Regions from separate parts of the Homo sapiens genome. Here regions 2, 3, 4, 5, 6 and 7 are each linked to region 1. Evidence: promoter capture Hi-C in human tissues and cell types (Jung and others, 2019). All regions are on one chromosome and are shown on one strand. The core of a region is centred on a gene start or on the middle of the fragment in contact, and the rest is flanking DNA. Distances in the headings are between cores, read along the strand shown.

Region 1 (4,012 bases), core at 562-3,061:
GATTTGGTAAAATTTGATTGCTCTGAAAACTAATTCCACAAAATATGTGAGATGTGAGCAGAAAAAAAAGAGAGAAAACCATAGATGAATCTTATGGCGCCTGCCTTTAAAATATTGATTGCAAGCACCGCTGCCTAGGAGCTGTGGGTCCTCAGGGAAGTTAACCTCTGTGCTCAGGTTTCCTGTTTTGAGAAACGAGGATCGCAGCACCGGATCCTGTATGGATTCTTTCTGTGCCCCAGGCACTGTCCCCAGCTTCATCAGCCCTGAGGAACAGAGGCTTGCCACCTAGCTAGCGTCTGTGCAAGCTTGCTAGCTCTGTGCTCACCACCCTGCGTTCTACCTGCGAAAAGTGCTTTCTTGACACTGTGCTGGACTCCTTAAACATGCCACTGACAGTGAGCCACAGCCGTGGCATGCCACCTGGCTCTGCAGACAGTCCTCTTTTTAATGTGTCAGAATAACTGAAAAAGGCTAACATTTGAGGCTATTTCCTCTATCGAAAAAGCTGTTTTCCAATATCTTGATCTTTCGGAGAATTCTATTTAAAAACAAAACAAACTTTTGGCCAGGTGCACTGGCTCACGCCTTTAATTTCAGCATTTTGAGAGGCCAAGGTAGGAGGATAGCCTGAGGCCAGGAGTTCAAGATCAACCTGGGCAACGTGGCAAGACTGCATCAATTATTTTTTTCAAAACGTGGTATATGCCCATAGTCCTGGCTTCTCAGGGAGGCTGAAGCGGGAGGATCACTTGAGCCGTCAGTCGTAACTGCACCTCTGCACTCCACCCTGGGTGACAGAGTGAGACCCTGTCTCTAAAAATATTCTTAAACTTTTTTTTAAACTGAAAATACTTTTTTCCTGAAGCTGTATATTAAGAGGAAGAAGACCCATGATTCTCTGTCCCCATCTAGGTCTGGGGAGGAGAAGCTCCCTTCAGGGAAGCAGGCAGAGCCTCTCAAGCACCCTGCGGCCTCTAGAGAGCTCAGTGTGACAGCAGGACCACGTGGCTCCATCTGCTGAATTGTCCTCCTGATATAAAGCGCTCCCTTTTAATTGGGATCACCCCCGCGGATTAGACCCCCCTTGGTGGCTTTCTGGGATTCTGAACCAGGAACAATTCCCTTTAATTAGCTCCTGGTGTGGGCTGCAGGCCTCTTCACTGCCAACAGGTGGGAAGCGCCATTTGCTCCCACTAGTCTCCCACTCCCTGTCCTGAGAAGCTGGGCCCACCTTGCCATGAGTGGGATGCAGAGGATTTTTGTACTTTGCCTCATTTCACAGAAGTTACCCGGTTTCTCAATATACCCCGGATGCACTTGTAGACTTGGTCTCTACCTCCTCTGGTGAGCAGCTCTCCTAGCTCCTATCACTTACCTAGTTCCGTCATGGTGTGTCCAGAATCGGCGGATTCTTGGTCTCACTGACTTCAAGAACGAAGCCGCGGACCCTGGCGGTGAGTGTTACAGTTTTTAAAGGCAGCGTGTCCCAAGTTTGTTTCTTCTGATGCTCGCATGTGTTCGGAGTTTCTTCCTTCTGGCAGATTCGTGATCTCGCTGACTTCAGGAGTGAAGCTACGGACCTTCATCATGAGTGCTACGGCTCTTAAGGTGGCGTGTTTGGAGTTATTCGTTTCTCCCGGTGGGTCCGTGATGTGGCTGGCTTTAAGAACGAAGCTGCAGACCTTCACGGTGAGCGTTACAGCTCATAAAGGCAGTGCGGACCCAAACAGTAAGCAGCAGCAACGGTTATTGCAAACAAGCAAAACAACAAAACTTCCACAGCACAGAAGGCGACTCCAGCAAGTTGCTACTGCTACCTGGGGCAGCCTGCTTTTATTCTCTTATCTGGCCCCACCCACATCCTGCTGATTGGTCCATTTTACAGAGAGCCGATTGGTCTGTTTTACAGAGAGCTGATTGGTCCGTTTTGACAGGGTGCTGATGGGTGCGTTTACAATCCTGGAGCTGGACACAAAAGTTCTCCACGTCCCCACTAGATTAGCTAGATACAGAGTGTGGACACAAAGGTTCTCCAAGTCCCCACCAGAGTAGCTAGATACAGAGCGTCGATTGGTGCATTCACAAACCCTGAGCTAGACACAGGGTGCTGATTGGTGTGTTTACAAACCTTGAGCTAGATACAGAGTGCCCATTGGTGTATTTACAATCCCTTAGTTAAACATAAAGGTTCTCCAAGTCCCTTCCAGACTCAGAAGCCCAGCTGGCTTCACCCAGTGGATCCCGCACCAGGGCCGCAGGTGGAGCTGCCTGCCAGTCCTGTGCAGTGCGCCTGCACTCCTCAGCCGTTGGGTGGTCGATGGGACTGGGTCCTGTGGAGCAGGGGGCGGCACTCGTGGGGGAGGCTCAGGCCGCGCAGGAGCCCATGACGCGGGGGAGGAGGCTCAGGTATGGCGGGCTGCAGGTCCCGAGCCATGCCCCGCACGGAGGCAGCTAAGGCCCCGCGAGAAGTCGAGCACTAACAGCTGCTGGCCCAGGTGCTAAGCCCCTCACTGCCCGTGGCCGGCGGGGCGGGCTGGCTGCTTGGAGTGCGGGGCCCGCCGAGCCCACGCCCACCCGGAACTCGCACTGGCGCGCAAGCGCGGCGTGCAGCCCCGGTTCCCGCCCGCGTCTCTCCCTCCACACCTCCCCGCAAGCTGAGGGAGCCGGCTCTGGCTTTGGCCAGCCCAGGAAGGGGCTCCCACAGTGCAGCGGCGGGCTGAAGGGCTCCTCAAGTGCCGTTAAAGTGGGAGCCCAGGCAGAGGAGCCGAGAGTGAGTGACGGCTGCGAGGCCTACCAGCATGTTGTCACCTCTCAGTGGGGGCTTGGCTTCCTCTGCACAGTTAAAGGAAGAGATTGGACCATTAAGAAATGCCCACTTCTTCTTTTTTTTTTTTTTTCAGATGTAGTCTCGCTCTGTTGCCCAGGCTGGAGTGCAGTGGCGCGATCTCGGCTCACTGCAGCCTCCGCCTCCCAGGTTCAAGCAGTTCTCTCCCTCAGCCTCCGGAGTAGCTGGGATTACAGGCACCTGCCACCAGCCCTGGCTATTTTTTGTATTTTTAGTAGAGACAGAGTTTGACCATCTTGGCCAGGCTGGTCTTGAACTCCTGACCTCGTGATCCACCTGCCTCGGCCTCCCAAAGTGCTGTGATTACAGGCGTGAGCCACCGCGCCCGTCCAGAAATGCCCACATTTGTAAAGTTGGTTGCTGCTAGGGTCCAACTCTGCTATCAACATTCACCTATGAGGTCTGGGAATGGGAACTTGTGTTTAAGGAGACTCCTTAAGTGCAAAGACTGCCCATCTTTAACCATACTACTTTTCTGATAACAAAGCTGAAATTTTCATCATTTTTTTTTTGATTTGACAGGAGCTATTATTTTAACTAAACTGGAATGTGTCCTGCAGTTTTCACTTTCCCATAATTCACTTATTTTTTTCTGTTCTAAAGTTTTCTCTAATTTTGAAATTAATAGAAAAAACAACACAAAATATTTTACTTAGTCACAGTGATATGTCTATTTTTGTATTCATTCACCTCCCCTCTCCCCACACAAGAACCCCCCAGCACATTCCTACTTTCTGGAATGAAAATAGCTCTGAGAAGTATGGATTTTGAGGTTCAACATCTGCACTTTTATTTCTTTTTCCATTGTAAAAACAAATGGTCTCTAATAATTGATGTCAAACACAGTCTTTAGGCTGATGAAATACAGTAAGCCTGAGAACGAATAAGGCAACTAAATGGAGCTGTTTTATTTAACAGAGAGCACAGTGATCTTCCTTACAAGCGGGATTCCCGAGAGGAAAATGTTTGTAATCAGATTTGACTCTAGGATTAAGAGGGCAAGGTGCGACCCTCTTAGTGAACCGGAAAGTAAGCAACGGTACACAAGTGTTCTCACCAGGGACAGCAAATGGGAGTTGCCAAGATTACAAGATCCCAAGACCTCAACTATTTCACGTGCTGAACTAAACTCAAAACTTTGTGGGATTTGTTTTAAATTTCTCA
Region 2 (4,012 bases), core at 852-3,351, 450 kb before region 1:
CCCGTAACTCTTTGGATGATGAAACCCCAGGCATGGTTTTTAAATCCAATCAAGCATACTGAGATGTGCGTGTCTAATGTGTCTTCAGGTAGGTGGCATCTGTAACTAGGTAGAAATCTGTTTTAAATCAATATACTTACTAGTCTGCACATTTATTCTGGGTTTTTTCAAGTTGTTGTCATAGAGCAGTCACTTATTGTCTTTCATCTTCTTGATATTTTCCTTCTGGGTTGGTAAATTTTTAGCATGTCCTCAGGTACTGTAAGAGAAAGATTTTGATTTATCTAACCTTTTACAAATTCAAGAGCATGGCTCACGCTTCTTGAGATTGCAAGTGAGATTTTGATTGTTTCTCTGACAATTATTGATGTATGTAATATATCCAGACCTGTCGTTTACAGATCCCTTCTAGGAGGCGGAGTTGATATAAAATTGAAATAATTGCTCTCTTGGTGCCCTTTCAAAGTTGCAGTGAGATTGTTCCTCTTGGGTTAATGCTTGGGTGTTAAACACATTTCCTTATCTAGCAAACACACTGAGAACCCATTGTGCCAGCCCCAATTCCTGGTGCTGGGCATACAGAGGGAAGTCAGAGAAGGGCCTTTTTTGTGGGAATCTGGTGATGGTGCCAAAATATGGACAGACTTTATCCTTAATGGAGCATAATAAGAAGGGCCAGGGGCTATGGAAGCCAGAGGAGAGGGACAACTGAACTGCCTCTGGAAGGCCAGAATGGCTTCCGAGTGCAAGCAACACCTCGGCTGAGCATTACAGGAAAAACGGGAGTTAGGCAGACAGAATAGGCCAATCAGTTTAAATGGTGCTTGAGGCCAGGTGTGGTGGTGCACACCTGTAATCCCAGCACTTTGGGAGACTGAGGCAGGCAGATCACTTGAGGCCAGGAGTTCAAGACCAGCCTGGCCAACATGGTGAAACATTTGTCTCTTAAACACACACACACACACACACACACACACACACACACACACACACACACACATAAAAATTAGCCGGGTGTGGTGGCGCATGCCTGTAATCCTAGCTGTTCAGGAGGCTGAGGCATGAGAATCACTTGAACCTGGGAGGTGGAGGTTGCAGTGAGCCAAGATTGCACCACTGTACTCCAGCCTGGGCAACGGAGTAAGACTCTGTCTCAAAAAAAAAAAAGTGCTTGAAAACACTCTATGTAAGTTAAGATCTTGCTTGTTTACAAATAGCCAAGACCTAAATGAATAATTGCTGAAACAAGGTAGAAGCTCATTTCTTTCACATATAAAGACCAGACGTGATTTGAGGCTCTCTGTGCATCGGCAACATAAGGTCCTGCCATCTTGTTGCACTGCCAGGTGTGGCTCCATCTCCACATGACCTCTTGGTCTAAGATGGTTGCAGGAGCTCCAGCTGCAACAGCCTCATTCCAGGCAGCATAAACATAGAAGGGAAGGAAGAGAAGCCCTCGCCTTTTAAGGAGGCCTTTTGATGTGCCATACTTTCCTCATTGACCAAAACATATCACATTGTTCTACATAGCTGCAAGGAAGGCTAGGGTATGAGGTCTTTGACTGCATGGCAAGGTGTCCAGGTATTATAGAAGTCAGTGTCCTTACTGAAGAAGAAGGGGAACTACTGGGAAGCGACCAACTGTTTCTGCCCTAGTGATTGAGTGTGGGGAGAAGGCTGCCTGAGCAAGGGAGAGAAGGAAAGCTTATCTTGTTTCACAGAATAGATAAGTAAGTCAATTTGGTTTGCCAAGTGATAAGGCTGGGAAAATAAACAGATGCTGGGTTGTGGGAGGTCTTGTAAACTGTGCCCTGCAGGGGAGCTGAAGTTCTGTCCTCAGGACCATGGCGAGTGGTTGAAGGAGTGTTATCATTGAGGTGGAGGGAAAGGCACTGGGAGGTGAGAGCAGGCCCATCATTAGGAGGCACTCACAGTCTTTCGAAAGAAACTATGACAGCCTGAACTAGGTGGTGGAATCAGGGATAGGGAGATGTGAGCAGATTCCAGAGATATTAGAGAGGCAGAACTGGTCAGAAGTAGGTGAGATGTAGGTGATACATAGGTGTAAAGAGATTAATGATGGCAGACACCCAGGCATCTGGGTGGATGTGACACCTTCCATTGAGATAACAGGGATTCTGGAGAAGGTGGGTGGAGAAAGTGAGCGTGGTTTGGGCATTGTATCTACACATACAGATTAGGTTGACCCATTTTTTTTAGCAGCTTTGATGGGATATAATTTAGATACCATAAAATACACCCATTTTAAGTGTACAGTTGGACAAGTTTTAGTAACATACAGTTGTGCAACCCTCACCATTACCCAGTGTTGGAAGACTTCCACTGTCCCAGAAAGCTCCACTGTGCCCATTTGCAGCCAAGTTCCTCCCACCCTGAGCTCCAAGGAGTCACTGATTTCATTTCTGTCAGATCCACCTTTTAAAGTGTAAATTCAATAAAATGATGAGTGCAGTGATTCTCTGATGGGGAAGGTGTGGGGGGTTGTGGAGAGTCATGATCCCCCAGGACAGTGTACAAGAATCATCCAGGAGGCTTTGTCAGACTGCATATCTGTCCCACGCCCCCTCAAGAGTTGAGTTCCCTTCATCTCCCCCACCCTGCAGAGTAAGCCATTGTTAGAGTCCTGAATAAGAAGTATTCAAGTTTGCTGGCCTGGCACAGTGGCTCACACCTGTAATCTCAGCACTTTGGGAGGCCGGGGCAGGTGGATCACTTGAGATCAGGAGTTCAGACCAGCCTGGCTAACATGGTGAAACCCCATCTCTACTAAAAATACAAAAATTAGCCGAACATGGTGGCAGGCACCTGTAATCCCAGCTACTCGGGAGGCTGAGGAAGGAGAATTGCTTGAACGTGGGAAGCAGAGGTTGCAGTGAGCCAAGATCGTGCCACTGCACTCCAGCCTGGGCGACAGAGCAAGACTCTGTCTGAGGGGAAAAAAAAAAAAAAGGTATTCTTCAAGTTTGTTGGGGCAGACGATGGAGAACCTATAAGCGTGTGTTTTTGTTTTTTGTTTTTTGTTTTGAGACGGAGTCTCGCTCTTGTCGCCCAGGTTGGAGTGTAATGGCACGATCTCGGCTCACCACAACTTCTGCCACCCAGGTTCAAGCGATTCTCCTGCCTCAGGCTCCCGAGTAGCTGGGATTACAGGCATGTGCTATCATGCCCGGCTAATTTTTGTAATTTATTTTTTTTTATTTAATTTTTTTATTTTTATTTTTTAGTGGAGATGGGGTTTCTCCATGTTGGTCAGGCTGGTCTCAAACTCCCGACCTCAGGTGATCCGCCTGCCTCAGCCTCCCAAAGTGCTGGGATTACAGTCTTGAGCCACCACGCCCGGTCGTGTGTTGGTTTTTAATAACTAGCTTGATAGATATTTTGTTTTACTCTGTTGTTTTCAACTAGACATTGACACTCATAGAATAGAGCTCAGATTTCTGTTATGTCCCAAATACCAGATGAGATGGTGCTCAAAAGCACACACTGTATGACATGGCACTTTTTGAGGAAGTCTCCTTGATTCCCCGCAGAAAGTATCTCCATATTACCAATTGCACTCCTTGAATGAAGTTTTTCAAATGCAATTCAGCAATTTACAAATCCAAAGGGTGCCCCAGCCTCACTTGATACTATAACCATCTTTTTTGGCTGTGACTAATTCCACATGTAAACACAGATGGAGGATTCTTTTTTAGTGGCAATGCAACTCTGTTGAGTGGTTTGAGGACACACTGGTTTGAATGTCCCTGGTTTTCTTCAGGAAGACTGTTCCATCAGGGACACCTTTTCTTAGTACTTGACTTTGAACTAATTACAGATATGTGAAGCCTCTCAGACTCCATGTCAATTATCTCTATCTTTAGTAATATCAAGATTTCTTAATTAGTTGCTAAAACCATCAATACTATGAAGCTTGAGATTGCTGGTTTACAGACGAGTATTACACAGGCACTTTTTCCTCTGCTCTCTTGTCTCAAAGCATGAAGGATTC
Region 3 (4,012 bases), core at 892-3,391, 420 kb before region 1:
GTATATTCACATGTTAGAATAATATTTAGCAATAAAGATGAAGGAAGTAATGATACCTGCAATGACTTGGATGAATCTCAAGGAAATTATGCTGAGTGAAAAAGCCAATCCCCAAAGGTCATATTCTATAGGATTCTATTTCCATATCATTCTTGAAATGACAAAATTATAGAAATGGAGAACAGATTGGTGATTGCCAGAAGTAAAGGAGGAAGGGAAGGGTGGGAGAGAAGTCGGGGAGGCTGTAAAAGAACAGTGATGGATGATGGAGCTGAGGTGCTAAAATCTCATACCTACACATAGGATCAAACTGTAGAGAGCTAAATACACACGCAAGTGAGTACAAGTAACAAGGGGGAAATCTGAACAATATCTTGGATTGCATCAATGTTAATAATTTCATTGTGATATTTTATTACAATTTTGCAAGAGGTTACCACTGGAGAAAAGAGTAAAGTGTACATGGGGTTTCTCAGTATTAGTTCTTACAATTGCATATGAATCTACAATTTTTTCAAAACAAAAAGTTTAAATTTTAAAAAGTCACATTGTTTTGGGATTATACCTTCTAACTTGAGTTAAAACAACATCTTACCTCTCAGAAGATGAATATAAGATATATATGGCTGGGAAACAGCAAAAAATGCTCACTTAAAATATTCAAGTGGGCTGGACATGGTGGCTCATGCCTCTAATCCCAGCACTTTGGGAGGTCGAGGCGGGTGGATCACTTGAGGTCAGGAGTTTGAGACCAGCCTGGCCAACATGGTGAAACCGTCTCCACTAAAAATACAAAAATTAGCCGAGCATGGTGACAGGCATCTATAACCCCAGCTACTTGGGAGGCTGAGGCAGGAGAATCGCTTGAACCCAGGAGGGAGAAGTTGCAGTGAGCCGAGATCATGCCATTGTGCTCTAGCCTGGGTGACAGAGCAAGACTCCATCTCGAATAAATAAAAAATGAAAAAGTAAAATATTCAAGTGAATATCATCCCCACTGGTCCTGTATCTTTCAGGGATCCTAATGACATATTTAATGGAGCTGAAGGGTCCTTTCACCCTTGGAACAACCCAAATGCTTCTGAACAGTTGGAAGCTCCAGGTATGGCCCTGCTTCTCCTGGTCTCAGTAGATGTTCAGAGAAGCTCTTTCAGATTCTCTAGAACAAAATTCTGATCTTGTTACCACATATAAAAGCATCAAGCTTCAAAAAGCACATGTTGTCTAAAACATTTTTCTCCTTCTGTATAGACTTCCCTCTTTCCTCAGCTGGTATTGTGTTTAGATTTTTTTTTCCTGAGACAGGGTCTTACTCTGTGGCCCAGGCTGGGGTGCAGTGGTGTGACCAATAGCTCACGACACCCTCAAACTCCCTGGCTCAAGTGGTCCTCCTCTCTCGGCCTCATGAGTAGCTGGGACTACAGGCGTGTGCCACCACACTGACTAATTGTTTAATTTTTTGTAGAAACAGAGTGTTGCTATGTTGCTATGTTTCCTAGGCTGATCTTGAACTCCTGGCCTCAAGAGATCCTCTCACCTCTGCCTCCCAAATTGCTGGGATTACAGGCAGGAACCACCACACCCAGCCACTGTGCTTACATAGAACCAGAAGAAAAGCTCCCCCCTTCCAAGTGTGTATTTTCCCAATCCTTGGGGTTTTATATGTATAGGAAGCTTGCATTCTAGCTTCATGTCCTCATTCATTGTGGCCGCCAGAGGCTGTGTGCCTCCACACCCACCTTGGGTTTCTCTTGCTTCTTCCTTTTTTCCCAAGCCATGGAATAGGTCCAAGAAAACCATTGTCTGGAAAAGCTCAGAGCTGCCCCCTGTTGCGGAGCCCTCAGATCCTCCTTGCTAAGCTTTACAACTACGTTGTGATTCTCCAAACCAGTGGGTCTTTCTGGGGAAGCTGTTAACAACTGCTCTAGAAGGAAATAACTCTTACTGTTTCTAAAGTCAAATATTTTAGCCATTAACACACGGAAGAGTTCTCCTGATTCAACCCTTTCTGTCTCAGAACCTGTCCAACTCTTGGCCCTGGTTTGGTTTTTGCTGTCACTTACCCCTGTTCTTTTCTGCTTTCTCCTGTGTTTGTCTCCCAGAAAGCACGCCTGTATCTTTTCCCCTTCAAGTCTGTCTAGCCCACATATCTCCTGAGCCACGAACCCAACAGGTCCCTCCAAGAGGATGCCACTTTCTCTCTCTCGTCATAGATGAAGCCCAGGAAACAGGACTGCCTTTTGCTGTTGTTGTAGGGGGTGAAGCCCTGAAGGAAAGAATTGCCACGATCCTTGCGGAGGAGTTGACACGGGAAATGTTAACGTTCTTATCTGTTTGGAGGAGGCACCGTGTACTCCTTGACAGCAATGCTTAATAGATTGTCTCCCAATAAAGCCAGGGTGAAACAGGATTTACTAATTTCAGGGTGACCATAGTATATGTTATGTAAAATAGTTTTGAAACACTCCCTTCTTTGGTTTGCCTGCAATGATAGTCTTGAAACATTTTTAAAAAATGAATGAGAAACCTTCTTGATGCTAAATACAATGAGGTGGGGAAGGCTCGTGCTCCGCTCTCCAGGCGGTTCCCATACAGCCCTGCCTGGAGGGAAGGTGTGAAGATGCCCACCGTTCTCTAGGCTCTGTCACCTGCCTGCACATTTGCAGGTCGCATGGTTCCCTCAGAAAGATGACAGTCAACATGAGCCACCCGGAGGTGACAGACACACCATAGTAGGGAACAGGTTAGGCCACCCGCCTCAATTTGGTTTAAAAGACTTCCTTCTCTCCCTGTGTCCCACCCCCCCCGCCCCATCTATGGTCCACCTTGTGGCAAGCTAGCGAGGCAGATGTAGAGAGCCCCAGGTGAGACGAGCAAGGCAGCGGAGGAGCTGCCTCAAGAGCCAGCTGATGCCAGCATCCCCGCTCTACACGGCACTAGCTCAAGTCTGCAAGGCCAGTCCCGCTCACCTGACCGACCACGGCCCGCTCCGCCTCCACAAGCCCCTCCTTAAAGGCTGTCTGACTTGGTCACTCCATTTCCCCACCTCCACTCTCCCTGCCAGCCCCTTGAGCTTCATGAGAAAGGGTTGGACAGTTGAAAGTTCTATTTGATTTCCCAGCTCTGTTTTTAGCTTTTCTATGCCCACATTGTAAAAGAAACAACAACAGGGCTGGGTGCAGTGGCTCACGCCTGTAATCCCAGCACTTTGGGAGGCCGAGGCAGGCAGATCACGAGGTCAGGAGTTTGAGACCTGCCTGGCCAACATGGTGAAACCCCGTCTCTACTAAAAATACAAAAATTAGCCGGGTGTGGTGGCGGGTGCCTGTAATCCCAGCTACTTGGGAGGCTGAGGCAGGAGAATTGCTTGAAACTGGGAGGCAGGCGTTGCAGTGAGCTGAGATCGCGCCACTGCACTCCAGCCTGGGTGATAAGAGTGAGACTCCTCTCGGGGAAAAAAAACAAAAAGAAAACCAAAGGAAGTTAGTTAGGCTCAATCGCTCCTGCACCTGGATCCCTGGCTGCTGGTGGGGTGGAGGTGGGAAAATTGCTTGAGCGCAGGAGTTTGAGTCCAGCCTGGACAACATAGCAAAACCCTGTCTCTAAATAAACGAATAAGTAAATAATAAAAAGCGAATTCCTATAAGATTTTGCGCATTTTCTGATGTGAGAGGCATAAACATTGGTCATCTGGGGCTTCGAAGACCTAATTAAAACAATCCATGTGAAACAAAACTTTGGCTTCTAGTCCTGTCGGACCAGTAGCCTCAGTAAAGTCACTCTGCTTTTCCAGATCTCAGTTTTTCCTTTTGGAATACAAGGAAATTGAGACACATTATTTCTGATGTTAGTTTCAAAGCTAACATCCTATGGTTCTAGGAAATATATATATGAATTCTTTTGAAGGAGGGTCCTAAAAAATGCAATGCCATTTTAATAGAATTAGCAAATTTAGGCTGAGTGCAGTGGCTCACGCCTGTAATTCCAGCACTTTGGGAGGTCAAGGCAGATG
Region 4 (4,012 bases), core at 647-3,146, 340 kb before region 1:
GGGAGCCCTTGAAAGAAAGGGATTGACCTCTGCAGGCAAGAATCTGAGCATCCTAAAAGTAGAAAAGGGCTAGAGGCTTCGCCTTACAGGCCAGGAAGCTTGGAGGGACGCGCTGCTAGAGACCATGGCACGCATGCTGTGTGTCGAAGGCCAGGTCCGCCTGTCTGCCTCTCCAGCAGATACTCTCTGGGGCTATTTTTTTCTGCTTGGTTGTCATCCTTTGGTTTAACCAGGCGCCAGGGCTCAGGCCTGGACCTGCTGGATTCCAAAGAAGACTTCGAGGTGGCCGAGCTTGTCTGGCTTCCAGAGGAGCTTTCTCTGTCCCGCCCGGGGGAGTGGCTCACCTTGGTCTGAGACCAATGGGAGGAAGCCTGCTGCGGGCAACTGGTCTGTGCCTGGAAGTTGGACTTGCATTTTCTCTGGACCTCCAAAGCAAACCCGAATGACCACTCTCATCCTCCCCTTTTGCTTGTTTGTGTATGTGCTTGTTTTGCCTGGTCGTCAGGCAGGAGGTGGTGTCAGATGATGAGAGGTGTTGCTCGTCCCTGGGTTGGTTCTCTTACGGGGCTGTATGGATGTCTTAGCTCAGACTGCTGTGACAGGTTACTATAGACTGAGGGCTAAAACCACAGACTTATGTTTCTCACAGTTCTGGAGGCTGGAAGTCTGAGATCAAGGTGCCGACCAAATTTGGTTTCTGTTAAGGGTCCATTTCTTGGCTTGCAGATGACAAATGTCATGTGTCCTCACAGGGTGGAGAGAGCAAGGGGCTCTGGTCTCTTCCTCTTTATGTAAGGGCATTGTTGCCATTATGGGGGCTCTACCCTCAGGACCTCATCTAAACCTGATTACCTCCCTAAGGCCCCACCTTCAGATACCACTGAAGGTATCTGGGGGTTGGGGCTTCAGTATATGAATTGGAGGGGACACAGTCATGCAGTTCAGAACAGTGGAGCAGTGTGCCATAGTGAAGGGATCTCCAGACCAGGATTCTCTATGGAAGTTCTTGGCCAGGTCTGAGAGTTGGTTACAGATCATTAAAATTTACATGGAATCCAGTACTTGAAAGTACATGTCTTCAGGATGGCGCTGAGCACATTCGCCTCTGTAACCAAATGCCTGAAATGTGTAGTGCACCTTCTGAGCACCCCAGTGCTTTCCTTAAAGTGAATGCAGTTTGAGAGGAACTCAATTATTGAGAAATTTTATATGACCCCATTTCTCTCATTTTAGGACAGATAAGTTGCTTATTTTAAACTCTGCAGGAGCTACATAGAGGAAGTTATACTCCAGGAGAGCTTAAATTTCACTCTCTGAAAACTCTGTTCCATGTAAGTACATTCCTCCTCTCTCCCCTCCTCAGTGAGCACGTACCCATCAGATGTGTGGAATTCTATTAAAAGCAGCTCCTCGTGACCCTCCAGGGTCTGTTTTGTAAAGCTGACACCAGCATCAGTGAGTTGGAAGGGGCTGCCACAGAAGACAGACTTACTGCTGCAGCCCGCTTCAGAGCCCTCAGTAGTACTTTTTCCTCTCCCAGCAAATCCAGGAGGCTGGGAAGGTGATTGTTAATTGTTTATGAGCATTAACTGTTTACCAGTCATACTTACTATTTTAAATCTGACCCTGCCATTATGTTGTTTTGTTTCTGTTCACAGCTGAGCTTTAAGCTGGGTAGAATTTCGTGATGAGTCACTCCTATGACTGTAAAATCAGTATCGATCAAGCCTTCCTGTTCATCCTGTGAGCAGTTTAGAGACAGATGAGACAGGCTTATGGTTTCCACTGGCTCGGCTCCGTGCGTGTGCGGATTGGGCTTCCTGAGAGCCTGGTTAGCCCCTTTTATCTGCTCTCTGAAACCTGCGCAAGGGTGTTTAGCATGCACCTTGAAACCTCTGCTGCCTGAAGACAGTGTGCTTAAATGAAGGGTATACAAACCCATGTGAGGTTTTCTCTTCCCTTTTCCATGAACTCCACCCCAATTACCTGTTTGAATTTTGCATGCCAGTTATTTTCAGGGAACTAGTGACCCTTTTCTTGCCACCCTGGGCTTTGAATTGAAGGCCAGTGTGCCACCTTTTCTTTGGCTTTGTTAGAACGTTGCCCTCAGGGTCATATGTGCTGGCTGCTATGAATTCTTACTGCTTGATGGACAGAGAAAGGTGAGGGTTAGATATCTGGACAGGGCATGACAGGGCGGGTCATCGAGTAGGAACATTGGGACCTTTTGCTTCCAGGCTTGAGCAGTGGGTGAGAAACACTGTCTTCCCATTAGGGCAGTGGGTGAAACACTGACTTCCCTCCATCCTCTGGGCAGCCTTGTCAGGTGGGTGTGGAAGCTGAGGTGTGTCTGCCCCAGGCTGTGCAGTCAGCCCCGTGTTCTAGCTTCCCGTGCCGAACCTGGCCCTGGAGGCTGTCTGCCTGGCAAGGGGGCTGCACAAAGCTCGGAGGGGCATTTCTGGTGCTTGGTAGATGGTAGGCCTGCCCCCAGTGCACTGATAAGAGCATGGGCTGAGAGTGCCACTTGGATTCGGCTACAGTGGGCGGCAGAGTGGGGGTGACTGGTGTTGCTTTTACTCTAGAGCAGAGGAGGCAGATGAGGTAGATCGGGGCCCCAGGGATGCTGAGCTGAGCTGGGTAGAGAGAATTTGGTTTTGTAGGATTTGGAGACAGAGACAAATTTGGAGTGTTTGGATGTTCGGGGACCTGCAGGAGGTATGTGAGGTGTGTAAAATGCAGCCCCTGTTTTAAAAAGAGCTTACATTGTCTCTTGAGAAGATAAGGTGTGCCCAGCTGTGGAATGGAACCAGATGCTTTTATGAGTGAGGATGGAGTGAGCACACTGGGAAAGAGCCCTGGAATTGGAGGAAGAGATCATTTTGCCCAGAGGGATCTTGGAGGTCTCCTGGAGGAGGGTACTTAGATGATCAGAAGGATTATACTAGACTTGATGGGGTGGTCTTGGCATCAGAACTTTAAAAATGTATTTTGGGGCTGGAAGCAAGGCTGGAGAGGAAGGTTTGTTTAAGTTGTAGTGGGGGATGAGGCTGGGGGCAAATCAGGGATGGTTTTCCAGGTCTGTAAAGGCTGGGGTAAGAGGAATGGTTGGTTCTTAAGAGCAAAAAAAATCCCTTACATATTGGTTCTCTTATTTGTGCTAAGTTAAATACATGGGAGGCTACTGGTGTTTATGAAATAACCCTGAGCCTTTTTGGGGAGGTAGTAGTGGATGTCTGATGGAAGAGATAGAAGACTGGTCCCAGGGGTTCTTAGTGGCACCTTCCTCTCAGGTCATCACTGTGCTTTTGCACATTGCAGTTATATTTGACTACATTTGATTATGGCAGATTTACTTAGAAGGGCACTGGAAAAAAGCCTCCCAAATTACAACTGACACAGGAAATGACTTTATTTTCTTCTATTTTTTTTCTTTGCTTTTCTCCCCCAATCAACATACATTTTTAAACCTGTCATCTCACATGACCTGCCGGTAGAATTGATATGTTTAATTTCTGTAGAAAATAACTGGAAATATTTCACAAGCTCCAGTAGCTTCCTGTTGTAGGGACCCTTAGGACTTTGGAATGAGAAGTTTTCTATTGAGTTGTCATATTTGGAAGGATAAAGGTGCCCTCTTTTCCCTCGATCCACATAGTAGACTCCTGTGTGCGGGCATTTGTTTGGTGTCTCACGTTGATGCAAATGCAGCCATTGCAGAGTGAGCCCCGCTCTGTTACTGGATCTCCATTTGCTCAAAAGAGAGCAGTGTCCCCCTCCAAATCTGCATGTCTGAAAGCATTCATGCAGGTTCATTGCATGGGTCTTTGCATTTTACTTAGACTTAGCAAAAATCAGGTATAGTCTTTCCTGAAAACAAAAGTGACCATTGTTTTTAATCAACTGCAGGGTGTTTGGAGTTGTGAAATATTTAGGGTCCCGAGTCCATTCCAGATTCAACATTGGGAAAGAATGAGAAAGCTGAAGCCTGGGGCAGGCTCTGTCTGCAGAAACC
Region 5 (4,012 bases), core at 1,082-3,581, 320 kb before region 1:
GTATCCTCTTATATAAGTGCATCTGACAAGCCCATTTCACAACTACATCTCATCAGTCACAGTTGGATGGCAAGGTTTATTGTTTAAAGTTTTTGTTTTTTCTTTTTTAAGTTGGGAAAGGAAGACAGATGGTTTCAGAAGCCAAGAAAGGGCACAAAGGCGTGGATATTTGGAAATCGGGACATAATTCACCATTCTTCTTAATTTTTTCTGATCTCTAAGACACTGAGACAGCTGTTAATTGAATTGCTTGTTCACAGTATTTGAGACGTAATGAAATGTGAGTGTCCTAATCACCTGGCGGGCGTAGATCTTTGGGATCCTCCTGGAGGCTTAGTAGGGCTGCCCTGAGCAGTATTGTCTTCTCCAGCTGGGCCTCTGAGCTGTACCATGTGCCCGTGCTCAGCCTCAGTCCCTCCCTCAGCCAGTTGTTAAATCACTTTGGACGTGTGACAGCCTCAACATGTCACAGCTTTAAAAGTTCAGATTTTAAAAAGGTAAGGAAATGATCTCCTAGTGAGACAACTTCTGCCTAAAAAATAAAAGCTTCTAAGACATAAATTCTGTGTTATGAACAACTTGCAATTTTCATAGTTTTCAGTTTTAGCTCTGGCAGCCTCTGATAGATCTTAAATATGTTTATCACAGCTGGAAAAATGTTTTATTGTCATCTTTGTTTATCATAATATGCCACCTACTCTGGTTGTGTCTTACAACTGTAGCTCTGTGGGGTTTTTTTTGTTTGTTTTATGCTTGCTAATGGGGGAGGTGGGGGGTGTGGGCGGATGAATATAAATGATACCTAGAAATTGAAATTGGAAAAAAAAATGTATTCAGCCAGTACTCTTTCCAGGTTATAGCTAAACGTCAGTTGGCAACCTCTATGCTGTGGTTTATTGAGTAACACTTAATACTTAGCACAGCCCTCAGTGAAGATCTTTTATGGCCTTTTCTGAATGTTATACAAACATAACTAAAGCTTATCCAGATGAGGACAGGGACCTTTCTTTCCTTCCTTTTTAAATGGAGCAAAATTTGGCCACTGGGTTGCTGTGGATGAGAGAGTAGAAGGAGAAAGGCAGTCATCGGGAGACTGTGTGCTGAGAGAGCGCATGTGGGATTTGGCTTCAGGAAGTCTGGGCTTGCATTCTATCCAGCGCTAATATTTAGTGAGTGTGATTTGGGGCAAATTATTTCGTCTCCCTGAGCTTCAGAATGTTTGAAACTTTGTGAGGAGTCTGACCCCACACTGTAGGCTCCCTCCATGTATATATTTCTTCTTCCTTTTCCTTTTTTTTTTTTTTTTTTTTTTAAATTTTTGAGATAGTGTCTCGCTCTGTAACCCCAGTTGGAATGCAGTGGCATGGTCATGGCTTACTGCAGCCTCAACGTCCCAGGCTCAAGGGATCCTCCTGCCTCAGCCTCCTGAGTAGCTGGGGTCACAGATGTGTGCCATCACGCCTGGCTAATTTTTAACATTTTTTGTAGAGATGGGAGTCTCACTATGTTGCCCAGGCTGCACTCAAACTCCTGGACTCAAGCAGTCCTCTCCCTCCAGCCTCCCAAAGTTCTGGGATTACAGGCATGAGCCACCATGCCCGGCTGGAACTGTTGGCTTTGAAGAAGAATGATGCTGTGCTTGCCTTTGCAGTCCTGTCACCATACTTCCTGGAAAGTGGGTGGACACGCTGGATGGTAGATGTTGAGTTCTTTAGATGCCTGGATGCTTACATGCTTTGTGTGGGTTCTTACTGGGGCTGTAACTTACTAGAGGACAGACTCCAACTTCTGCTTACTTAGTCTGGGGAGGTTAATAATAATCTAGGGCACCCGCTTCCCAGTGGGTTTCCATCAGTCTCCTCCAGCCCACTCTACTCTCTGTTAGCCAGCTGGGCACCTCTTCCTCTGTGTCCCTTCGGTATCTTCCCAGTGGCTCTTTCCACGACTGGCTCAGACCATGTGTATATCTGCTCATTGTCTGTCCAGGGTCCCTCCAAAGATGCCTCTGTGGGCTGGGCCCCTGGTGGTGCTTCCTCCAGATAATTGTTGAAGATGGAACAGGAGTGTGCAAGAACACCAGCGTGCTTCCAGTATTCAGGTCTAGCGGCAGGTCCCAGGCATCAGCGGCTCACCACTCCACCGCAGGTAGCCTGATTGCCCAGCCTTGGAGCCGCAGCCTCCTTGGGTGGTGTGGCAGCTGTCAGTGTCTGAAACCATTTTGAACTTTAAAGGGTGGTGTCAGACAGCAGCTATTGAGGCTACTTAAAAGAATTTTTTTAAATGTACGAGTTCAGTGGCATTAAGTACATTCATATTGTTGTGCAACCATCACCACTGTCCATCTCCAGAACTTGTTCATCTTCCCAAACTGAAACTCCATGTCCATCAAACAACTCCCCATTGCCTTTTTCCCCAAGTCTTTGGCAACCGCCATTCCACTTTCTGTCTGTAAATTTGACTGTCTGGATACCTCATGTAAGTGGACTCGTACACTATTTGTCCTTTTGTGACTGGCCCATTTTATGAGCATAATGTCCTCAAGGTTCATTCAGGCTGTAGCATGTGTCCAGAATCTCCTTCCTTTTTAAGGCCCAATAATATTTAATAATATATGTATGTGTGATAACACATTTATATAATGTCCATTACCATGTGGTATATATGCTTATCCATTTGTCTGTCGATGGACACTTGAGTTGCTCCCCCGCTTTGGCTACTGTGAATAATATGACTGTGATCATGGATATGCAAATATTTCCTTAAGTCTTTCAGTTCTTTTGGGTATATACCCAGAAGTGGAATTGCTGGATCATATGGCAGTTCTATTTTTAATTTTTTGAGGAACCACTGTACTGTTTTCCATGTAGACTGCATAAGAATTCCAATTTTTCCACATCTTGCCAACGTTTATTTTTATTTATTTTTTTAAATTTTTTATAGTAGCTATCCATTCTAATGGATGTGAGGTGGTATCTCATTATGGTTTTGATGGGACTTTTGAGTTTTAGCAAATATCAATGAAGTATTTAATTTTTTTTTTTTTTCTTAGAGACAGGATCTCACATTGTTGTCCAGGCTAGAGTGCAGTGATGTGAGCATAGTTCACTGCAGCCTCAACCTCCTAGGCTCATGTGATGCTCCCACCTACGCTTCCTCAATAGATGGGACTATGTTCCTGCGCCATCACTCCTGGTGAATTTTTAAATTTTTGTAGAGATGCGGTCTTGGTACATTTTCTAGGCTGGTCTGGAAGTCCTGGCCTCAAGCAGTTCTTCCACCTGAACCTCCCAAAGTGCTGGGATTATAGGCGTGAGCCACTGCACCTGGCTTATTTAAATTTTTATGGGTATGAATTCACTTAAAAGCTGAAGGTTTTGAGAGGAGAGGGAGCATGTGAAAAAACCTAAAGGTTTTGGGAGGAGGAGGAGAAGGAAGAGAGGGAGCATGTGAACAAGAGCAACTGATTACTTCCTTGTCATTCATTTGCCCAGTGTTTACTAAGCACCTGCTGTGTCTCAGACCTGTGCTGGTTTGGCCCTTGTGAAGGACAGTAAATACAGTGCAGTTCCAGCTGCGCATGGGATCACAGTCCAGTAGGTAAACGAGTGCCTAAACTTAAGAGAAATGAGTGCAGTTGGGGTCCTGTGGCGGTGAAGGGGCGAGTCTGCACCCAGGCGAGTGTTAAAGGCCTGGCCTAGAGAAGATGGGTGTTTTGATGGAAGGAGCTGCTGGGAAGCATGTGTACTCGGTGTCTTGGAGTTTAGAAACCTCAGTTGGCTCCATGTCTCGTCCTTAGTAAAGGAATATCGGGAGCTGAGACTGGATGTATTGACACAGGTCAAATCACAGAGTCTTAGGCCATTTCAAGGAGGTTGGATTTTTCTCTGGAAGGCACAGGGAGGTTTTGAAGGACTTAATGCAGAAGAATGGGCACTGTCAGGTTTGTGGTTTGGAAAGTCCGCCTTGGTAGTAGGGTGGAGGGTGCATTATGGAGGGCTAGACCAGGGTCCAG
Region 6 (4,012 bases), core at 851-3,350, 300 kb before region 1:
ACTCGGATGTATACGTTAGAGCTCAAAAGAGTCTGGGCCAGTGACATGAATTTGATCATATCTAGAGTATGAGTGGCACAGGAAGCCACTTGTCTGGATGAGGTGACAGAGGAAAAGGTTGAGGATAGCAACCAACATTTAGAGGTAAGGTAGAAGGCAGAGCAGTGTGGAATCAGGGAAGCCGAGAGGAGGAGGCAATGCCAGGTGACTGGAAGGTCAAGTGACACTTCGACAGTGTCACTGAGGGCTCTGCTAGGAGCTATTCGGTGTCATAATGGGGACAGAAGCTCAGTCGGAGTGGGTTAAAGGTAACCAGGAGGTGAGGGTGCTGAGAGGTGGGACTATTGACAAGCCTTGTGTCAAGTTTTGCTATGTAGGGGCTGAAATCTAATGTATGTGACTGTGTATAAGTGACTTGACTTCCCCAAATCTGTTTCCTCACCTTTAAAATGGGTGTTTGCCAAGTGCTGGTTTCTGCTATTCTTTTCTCTGTCTTAGGGGTGTCATTTTCTCTTTGGTAAAACAGAAGAATTAGATGATATGAAGTTTCACATTCTAAGTTCTCAAGCTTTGCCCACTCCTCAGCCCTTGGGTCCCTCCACTTCCTCTTCTCTTCGCTATCTCTGCTCAGTTTCTGTCTTTGATTGTAATGTAATGCCCAGTGGGACTTTTCTTCTCTCCCTCGTCTGTTCACTTATTCCGTCCTGCACTGGGCCACCAGATTAATCCTGCAAAAGGCCTCACATGGGCTTCTCTCCCGCTCAGGAGCCTTGTGGGGGCTTTATTCCTCTGAGATGAAAGTTCTTATCCCCACATGTGATCCTTTATGACTTGGGTGCTATCAAATTCATTTCCTCAACTGCTCCCCTCTTCACCCTGACCATCAGATCTGCTGGCACATGGGCATACCTTGTTCTGCATTGTCTCTGGCCTGTGGGATATTTACCGAGCTTTAAATCCTAGGCACCCTTTGGGAGCCGGCCTGTGTGCAGAGCTCCCCTTAGCACGGTGGCACAAAGCTTGGACACCACCTCTTGTCTGTCCTGCTTAATTCCATTCACATCTAGAGTGGACTCGCTGTGTGCACACCACTGACCACCTGCCTCATGTGACAGTTGTTCCTCATGGGTCTTAGCTCTTTGCCTTCACCATGAGCCTCCTCAGAGGGCAGGGCACTGCCTGTTGGCATTTCTCGTGGTATCATACATGTTGGGTGCTTCCCAAATTAATTACATCAGTCAGAAAACTTCACTCTATCTGAGAAGCTTTAATAGTGTACTTGGGATTATTAAATCCTAAAAAAGGTTATCACAAAGAGTTTTCTTGGTGTGTGTCTGTGCTTAGAATTTAGAAAATAAGTCATCCAGTATTGAGGCCATTTTATGAAAAGCCTTTAAAATCTGCAAATGCGTTGGCCCAGCACTTCCACTTCTAGGGATTTATCCTAAGAAAATAGTCTTGGGTATCTGCCAATAATGTTCACTGGAGTGTTGTTTATAATGTGCAAAACAGGAGCTAACCTAAATGTCCAACAATAAGGGATTGGTTAAAAAAAAAAAACAACCCTCATGGTGTGTATTAATACTCTGGAACTACTGTCCCCTTAAAATGGTGATGTAGAAGGACATGTATTGACCTAGTAAAATATTAAGTGAAGGAAGTGTGTTTACAAATGTCATTTTTGTCTGATTTCACTTACCTTCATTTATAGAGAGTGGATAATTGGCATAGATAGTGTTAACATTGTTTATCGTGGAATGTTGAGATCGTTGATGATTTTTACTGGTTTTTTTTTTTTGGTTATTACCTCTAAACTCTGTAGGAAGCATGCTTTCTTGATCAATAAAACTTAAAGTTGGAGTTTATGCTGCTTTTATTCATAAAAAAATCACGTTTTTAATCTTGTTAGGTTATCCTTTATGTCTACATTAATGCACGTGTGGAGAGAACACAGTCTACTCGGCTTATGTCAAATGGTAGTGGGAAGCATGGAAGCATGCGTTTTTTAGTCCCCACTTTACAAGTCACAGTGACGGTTCTCCAGTGTAGAGTAGATTGATTGCCCTGTGTCCTTCAGGCAGGGTGCAGTAGTAAGTTATTGATACTTGGCTGCTGAGCTGTCGTTCAGGCCTTGGCAACTGACGCTCTGCAGAACGGACCAGGAGTGTGCGGTGGTGGAGTCCGGCTGGCCTGGGTTGCAGATTTAACTTTCGCCTCTGCCTCTGTGTGCCTCTGGGCTGTAAGCTTTAGTTTGCACGGTTAACGGGGATGGCCTCTCCCATGGTCGGTTGGAGTGTGTTGCACAGCGTCTGGTCCAGTGTTGGCACTGTATAAATGCCAGCTAACTGGTTAGCCACCTAAACTGTCAGTCTGCAACCCACAGCTCTGCAGTGAACAATTGAACCTCATTTCTTTAATAATAATACAGGATTCCTGAAAACCAACTGTATTATTGTTTGGAAAATAGTTTAAAAATTATTTCCTTCTAACTGAGACGTTTACCCTCTTGTCTCCCTTCAGTCTGCGGGCCAGGCATCGACATCCGCAACGACTATCAGCAGCTGAAGCGCCTGGAGAACTGCACGGTGATCGAGGGCTACCTCCACATCCTGCTCATCTCCAAGGCCGAGGACTACCGCAGCTACCGCTTCCCCAAGCTCACGGTCATTACCGAGTACTTGCTGCTGTTCCGAGTGGCTGGCCTCGAGAGCCTCGGAGACCTCTTCCCCAACCTCACGGTCATCCGCGGCTGGAAACTCTTCTACAACTACGCCCTGGTCATCTTCGAGATGACCAATCTCAAGGATATTGGGCTTTACAACCTGAGGAACATTACTCGGGGGGCCATCAGGATTGAGAAAAATGCTGACCTCTGTTACCTCTCCACTGTGGACTGGTCCCTGATCCTGGATGCGGTGTCCAATAACTACATTGTGGGGAATAAGCCCCCAAAGGAATGTGGGGACCTGTGTCCAGGGACCATGGAGGAGAAGCCGATGTGTGAGAAGACCACCATCAACAATGAGTACAACTACCGCTGCTGGACCACAAACCGCTGCCAGAAAAGTAAGAATGATGCTGACTGCTGCTTTCTCTCTGCCTCTCTCTCTCCTCTCCTCCTCCTTGACCTCCCTTCTCTTCTGAGTGCACGAGTTCCGCTGGGCAGGGTGCAGTCGTGTTGCATTTAGGACGTGGCATGCCTGCTGTGCGGAAGTGGTTCCCAGTGGGGGTCTTGGTTGGCTTTCCTTTGCATCTGGGACTCTTGGATTGCGGGACTGTGGCGTGGCTGGAGGCCATCATGGCTGCTGTCAAGACTGTTCAAATCACATGTTAGAAATAATCCAGCACACTCCTGGGCTAGACACTTGCTGACCTTCAGCTTTGAATTCCTGATGAGAAAGGTGACCTGGTGTGCTTGGAAGTCCCTGAGCCTTGGCAGCTGGGGGCTGCTTATGTGTCAGCTCTTTCATCCTTTGTGCGAAGTGATATTTTTTGTTCTGCAGGACTTCCTTAGTTTGAATGGACTTGGAATATGGTTAAATAAAGGGAAGGTAAAGCACTAACTCATATCCTGTGAAAGTGGTCCTTAGGTCCTAGTGATGATGTTATGATACTCAGGTGTCCTGGTTATGACAGAGCACCTGGCCCAGGTGGGAGACCTCTGGACCCATTTCTGCAAGTCCCAGGTTCAGGCTGTACTTGCAGGTAGCTGTGTAGCAGGGTGCATTTTTAAACCTCTGGGATTCTGTTTTCGTTCTTTTATACCTGTTTACTGAACAGTTGTGAAAATCTTAAGATTTCACGAGTGAAGGAACTTTGGAAAGTATTTACTGTTCTGGGGGTCAGATGGTGGTATTTTGAAGCTTCTTGTATATTTATCTGCAATATGCTTATTTTCCCTTGAGAATAACTGAGCTCTTGCCTTCATGTGATCAGTTCCTTAAGAACCAGGCTGTTTGGTATTAAAATGTGACTCTGAGCCTTCACCTTATTGCATTCAGCAATAGTTATG
Region 7 (4,012 bases), core at 952-3,451, 280 kb before region 1:
CCAAGATTTTTACATGATTTAGTGTTTTCTGAATTGGAAAAAAACAAAAACAAAAACACACAAAAAAACCATGTCTAAATCCTAGCATTTCATCCCATGTTGATGAAAGGGCATCTTTTTTTTCCCCTAATCTGTGGTTAGAACTCTCAGAAACTTTTAGAAGATCCCTCCTATGTTTTGGAGGTTTGCAGATTTGAACCCCAGTTCCTCCCACAGTGCTTCTCCAACTCCTGGAATGAGGTAAACCTCCAGGCAGCCTGTTGACCCAACCCATGCATGCCGGTCTTTGGGACTCCTAGATGTGGACCCTGGAGTGAATAGGGATCAGGTGGGAAATGAGTTCCTTTGATCAAGATCCTTGTACCAGTGAACTGACCCCACTCCCCGTCTGGATTCCTGTGGTGATTACCCTCTGTATTAGTCTGTTTTCATGCTGCTGATAAAGACGTACCCAAGACTGTGAAGAAAAAGAGGTTTTAATTGGACTTACAATTCCACATGGCTGGGGAGGCCTCAGAATCATGGCAGGAGGCAAAAGGTACTTCTTACATGGTGGCAGCAAGAGAAAATGTGGAAGAAGCAAAAGTGGAAACCCTGATAAACCCATCAGATCTCGTCAGACTTATTCACTATCATGAGAATAGCACGGGAAAGACCAGCCCTCATGATTCAATTACCTCACCTGGGTCCTTCCCATAACACATGAAAATTCTGGGAGACACAATTCAAGTTGAGATTTGGGCGGGGACACAGCCAAATCATATCACCCTCTTAGCAAGGACTGTGTTCGTGATCATGACTGGCATTCACTGAACAATGACTAGGTGCCAGGCACCTCGCCAGTATTCTTTAATCTTTGCACAGTCTGTAGGGTGGATATGGATATTACTGTTCCATTTTTTGTGGAAGAGGAAATGGAGGCAAGAGACCTGATTATAACTTGTGCAAGGTGCCATGCAGCTAAGCAGCCAGCCCAAATCCAGACCTGCTTTCCTATGATTTTCCTGCCCATTACTCTCCCATCGTAGCTCACCTAATACTTCCTAGTGGGCTGCTGCTGAACACACACCCAGGGATGACTTAGTGGCTTGTCTTGCTCTGAAGAAGGCTAGGCACCATGTTGGATGAGTTCTTGAAGATGTCTTGCTCTAGTCAAGAAACTTTTAAATCTTTGGAGTTTTTGTCCACATCTGCCTAGTTCTTAGTAAACATGATGTGGGTTCTATTAGCATGGCGCCCTCCCTCCCTTCCTACCACCTTTATATGAGCGGAGAACATCTATGACTCTTATGAGAAAGGAAAGATGAAAATCAGAGTGACATAGTATAGTTAAATTGCAGATGCTTAATTATAAAACAGCTTGTTTCTGAATTTTAATTCCTTGCTTTTCTCTGACTTTTTAAATTCCCCTCCTTAGGCAGAATTCATTTTTACATTGATGATTTTTTTTTTTTTTTTTTTTTTTTGAGATAGAGTCTTGCTCTTGTCACCCCGGCTGGAGTGCAATGGTGTGATCTTGGCTCACTGCAACTTCCGCCTCCCGGGTTCAGGCAATTCTCCTGCCTCAGCCTCCTGAGTAGCTGGGATTACAGGCATCTGTCACCATGCCCGGCTAATTTTTTGTATTTTTAGTAGAGATGGGGTTTCACCATGTTGGCCAGGCAGGTCTCGAACTCCTGACCTCAGGTGATCCACCCACCTTGGCCTCCCAAAGTGCTGGGATTCTAGGTGTGAGCCGCCACACCTGGCCTGATGAATTATTTTCATGTGTGGAACAAAACTTTGATGCTGATCAGTGATTAGGTACCTTTGTTTGGTTCATTTTTAACTAAGGAGATTTCTTTCTTTTTAAAACCATTCTTTAATCTTGTAAAAATATCATTTAATGGGTGGATGTTTTAGCTGTGATGAATGACAGGTTGTCGTAAAGGAAGAAAGGTATGTGGTTTCCAGTAAACTTTTAATTCTTTTGCAAAATAAAAATAACAGTCGTACAGAGAGTAAAATATATGAAGAGTCAGGAAGTGATTTATCAAAATCAGATCTTGGACTGCTGGTTTTACCATGAATTAGGCTCTTGGAAAGTGATTGGGCCAGTGTAGGTTTACATTTTTTTTTTCTTGTTTTATTTGTCAAAGCAAACTTGTGGTTGCCTGCCCGTAGTTTAATTCTGCCTCCTTTGGGCAAACAACCGACTTTTACTGGGAGTCTTTCTCAGGGAGATAAAGGTGCACCCTGAAACTCTGCTCTCTGATTCCTCAGCAAAGTCAGTCCTGAGTATGGGGCTTGGGTGTCTCTGCAAGGCCTTGCAAGTGAGATGGGCTGTCACCTGAGCTCAGGTGGGGCTGCTCCTGCCTTGGACAGCCTCCCCAGCTTCTCCTGCATTATACCCAGGGGCTGGAGGGCAGAGAGCAGGTCTTCTTCTGCTGGTCGGGGCAGTCACAGGCTTTCCTCTCGGCCTGCTTGTCCTCCGGGTGGGTCCAGCACCCGCTGGGATTCCTGTGGGCTTAGTCACTGTGTGGCGGCGGCAGAAGGACTGGGGAAACCGCCGGCCGGCCCTGGTGCGCTGTCACCCCGAAGGAATGCGGGCCAGGCCGGGGCTGCTGGGCCTGGAAAGTTCTCCAGTCCCTGTTGCAGATCTGGCCTGCCGACTCAAAGTAAATCTCTCTTCCCCTTTATTTCCCATCAAATAAAAAAGGAACACGAGGTAGCCACTGTACTCACTGAAGATGCATTGTTTTTTTTTTTTTTTTTTTTTTAAGCGAGCAGCAGCAAGATTTATTGTGAAGAGTGAAAGAACAAAGCTTCCACAGCATGGAAAGGGACCCAAGCGGGTTGCCCTGAAGATGCATTTTTTAACTTGCTTTTTAACTAAGTATTTTTGCTCTGAGCTTTCCTGGATCTGTAAACACACCCCCAGCTATTCAAGATGGGCTTCTTGGTGAAAAGTGATGTGTCCTAGGAGAAATCACGCCTGTTGTTGCCGCTGGCCATCACAGATCCCGGTGCCTGTCTGTGAAAGGCTGGCCGGGCTGGGTGGGGATGAGAATGGTCGGGTTGTCTAGACTCAGCCTGGACTGTCTTTGACTGGAGGGGCCTGAGCTCCTCCTCCACTGCTCAAGACCCCGGTTAAGGGGACAGCAGAGCAGGGATGAGAAGTGGCCCTCTTCACATCACCTCCCAGCAAGAGGGCCTGACTTAGTGCTCCCACCATTGCCAGCCCCAGTTTCAGGGTCCCACTCAGTTGTATTTGAATAGGTCTCATGACATGTGCTTTGCTTGAAGAGCGGCTATTAGCAGCAGACGTTCAAGAGGCTGAGCTCAAGCAGGTGAGCATGTTCTGAGCCATTGTGAACCCAGTGAGGTGCCTATGCTGATGCCCAGGGCCGCCTGGGCGGGGTCAGGCCCCCATCGCTTCTTCATCCTAGCTCTGGGAGTGCATTCTGCACTCTCCCGAGGCCAGCTGGTGGCCTTTGGTGATCACCCTCTCTGTAAGTTTTTAAGTGGCTTCCTTTCCTCTGGTGGAGAAGCCAGCACCTTTATCCTATGACAAGAAAGCTCTTTGTAGTAGGTGGTAGTAGAATCAGACAGATCTGGCTTAAAATCTTGGCTGTGCTACCTCTTGGCTCTGCACATTGGTGAAGAGAATTTACCTTCCTAAGGCCTCTCAGCTACACGACTGTGGACACTCAGCTTCCTTCTAAGGTCGTTGTGAGAGGTAAAGAAAAGGGGTTAGTCCAGGGCCAGACATGGCACAATGCCTCAATGAAATATTAGCTGATACTATCATAATTTTTAAATTCCCATAGGACTCACTGTTAAAGGATTACAAGGCTGACACAAAAAATACTGCATTTTGAATTTGTGTCTGATTTATACATTTCCAAAGAGTGGAATTCTCACTACAACAGCTGTTCTTTGAAAGGTTAGATCTTTGTTCTGAGATAAATTAAGTGGAAAAAGGTGTAGAGCATTATATGTACTCTGATTCTTCAGGGCTTAATTTAAAAAG

The links. The method cuts DNA at HindIII sites, captures the fragments that hold promoters and counts their contacts. A contact is called where the count stands out against the background at its distance.
Region 2: a fragment that was not itself captured here is called in contact with the fragment with the promoter of PGPEP1L in region 1 in 4 of the 25 tissues and cell types used here (H1 embryonic stem cells, heart left ventricle, mesendoderm cells and 1 more).
Region 3: a fragment that was not itself captured here is called in contact with the fragment with the promoter of PGPEP1L in region 1 in 3 of the 25 tissues and cell types used here (mesenchymal stem cells, mesendoderm cells and spleen).
Region 4: a fragment that was not itself captured here is called in contact with the fragment with the promoter of PGPEP1L in region 1 in 1 of the 25 tissues and cell types used here (liver).
Region 5: a fragment that was not itself captured here is called in contact with the fragment with the promoter of PGPEP1L in region 1 in 1 of the 25 tissues and cell types used here (spleen).
Region 6: a fragment that was not itself captured here is called in contact with the fragment with the promoter of PGPEP1L in region 1 in 2 of the 25 tissues and cell types used here (mesendoderm cells and spleen).
Region 7: a fragment that was not itself captured here is called in contact with the fragment with the promoter of PGPEP1L in region 1 in 2 of the 25 tissues and cell types used here (liver and mesenchymal stem cells).

What each region holds. Positions count from the first base shown.
Region 1 is chr15:99,005,981-99,009,992 of GRCh38, forward strand. It overlaps PGPEP1L (pyroglutamyl-peptidase I like), which reads right to left and starts at 1,812. Exons shown (of 5, transcript NM_001167902.2): 1 at 1,379-1,812. The HindIII fragment of the contact is 12,693 bases long and covers 1-4,012 here.
Region 2 is chr15:98,552,969-98,556,980 of GRCh38, forward strand. No RefSeq gene overlaps it. Among named protein-coding and RNA genes, the nearest start is that of IGF1R, 94 kb to the right of the region's middle. The HindIII fragment of the contact is 3,870 bases long and covers 167-4,012 here.
Region 3 is chr15:98,589,382-98,593,393 of GRCh38, forward strand. No RefSeq gene overlaps it. Among named protein-coding and RNA genes, the nearest start is that of IGF1R, 57 kb to the right of the region's middle. RefSeq lists an enhancer at 3,005-3,504. The HindIII fragment of the contact is 4,989 bases long and covers 1-4,012 here.
Region 4 is chr15:98,667,384-98,671,395 of GRCh38, forward strand. The region is part of intron 1 of IGF1R (insulin like growth factor 1 receptor); the gene reads left to right. Among named protein-coding and RNA genes, the nearest start is that of IRAIN, 19 kb to the left of the region's middle. RefSeq lists enhancers at 1,049-2,248, 1,899-2,624, 3,353-4,012. The HindIII fragment of the contact is 8,899 bases long and covers 1-4,012 here.
Region 5 is chr15:98,683,641-98,687,652 of GRCh38, forward strand. The region is part of intron 1 of IGF1R (insulin like growth factor 1 receptor); the gene reads left to right. Among named protein-coding and RNA genes, the nearest start is that of IRAIN, 35 kb to the left of the region's middle. The HindIII fragment of the contact is 3,139 bases long and covers 763-3,901 here.
Region 6 is chr15:98,705,042-98,709,053 of GRCh38, forward strand. IGF1R (insulin like growth factor 1 receptor) reads left to right here. Exons shown (of 21, transcript NM_000875.5): 2 at 2,521-3,066. Among named protein-coding and RNA genes, the nearest start is that of IRAIN, 56 kb to the left of the region's middle. The HindIII fragment of the contact is 3,690 bases long and covers 256-3,945 here.
Region 7 is chr15:98,725,271-98,729,282 of GRCh38, forward strand. All of the region lies in intron 2 of IGF1R (insulin like growth factor 1 receptor), which reads left to right. Among named protein-coding and RNA genes, the nearest start is that of MIR4714, 57 kb to the right of the region's middle. The HindIII fragment of the contact is 7,726 bases long and covers 1-4,012 here.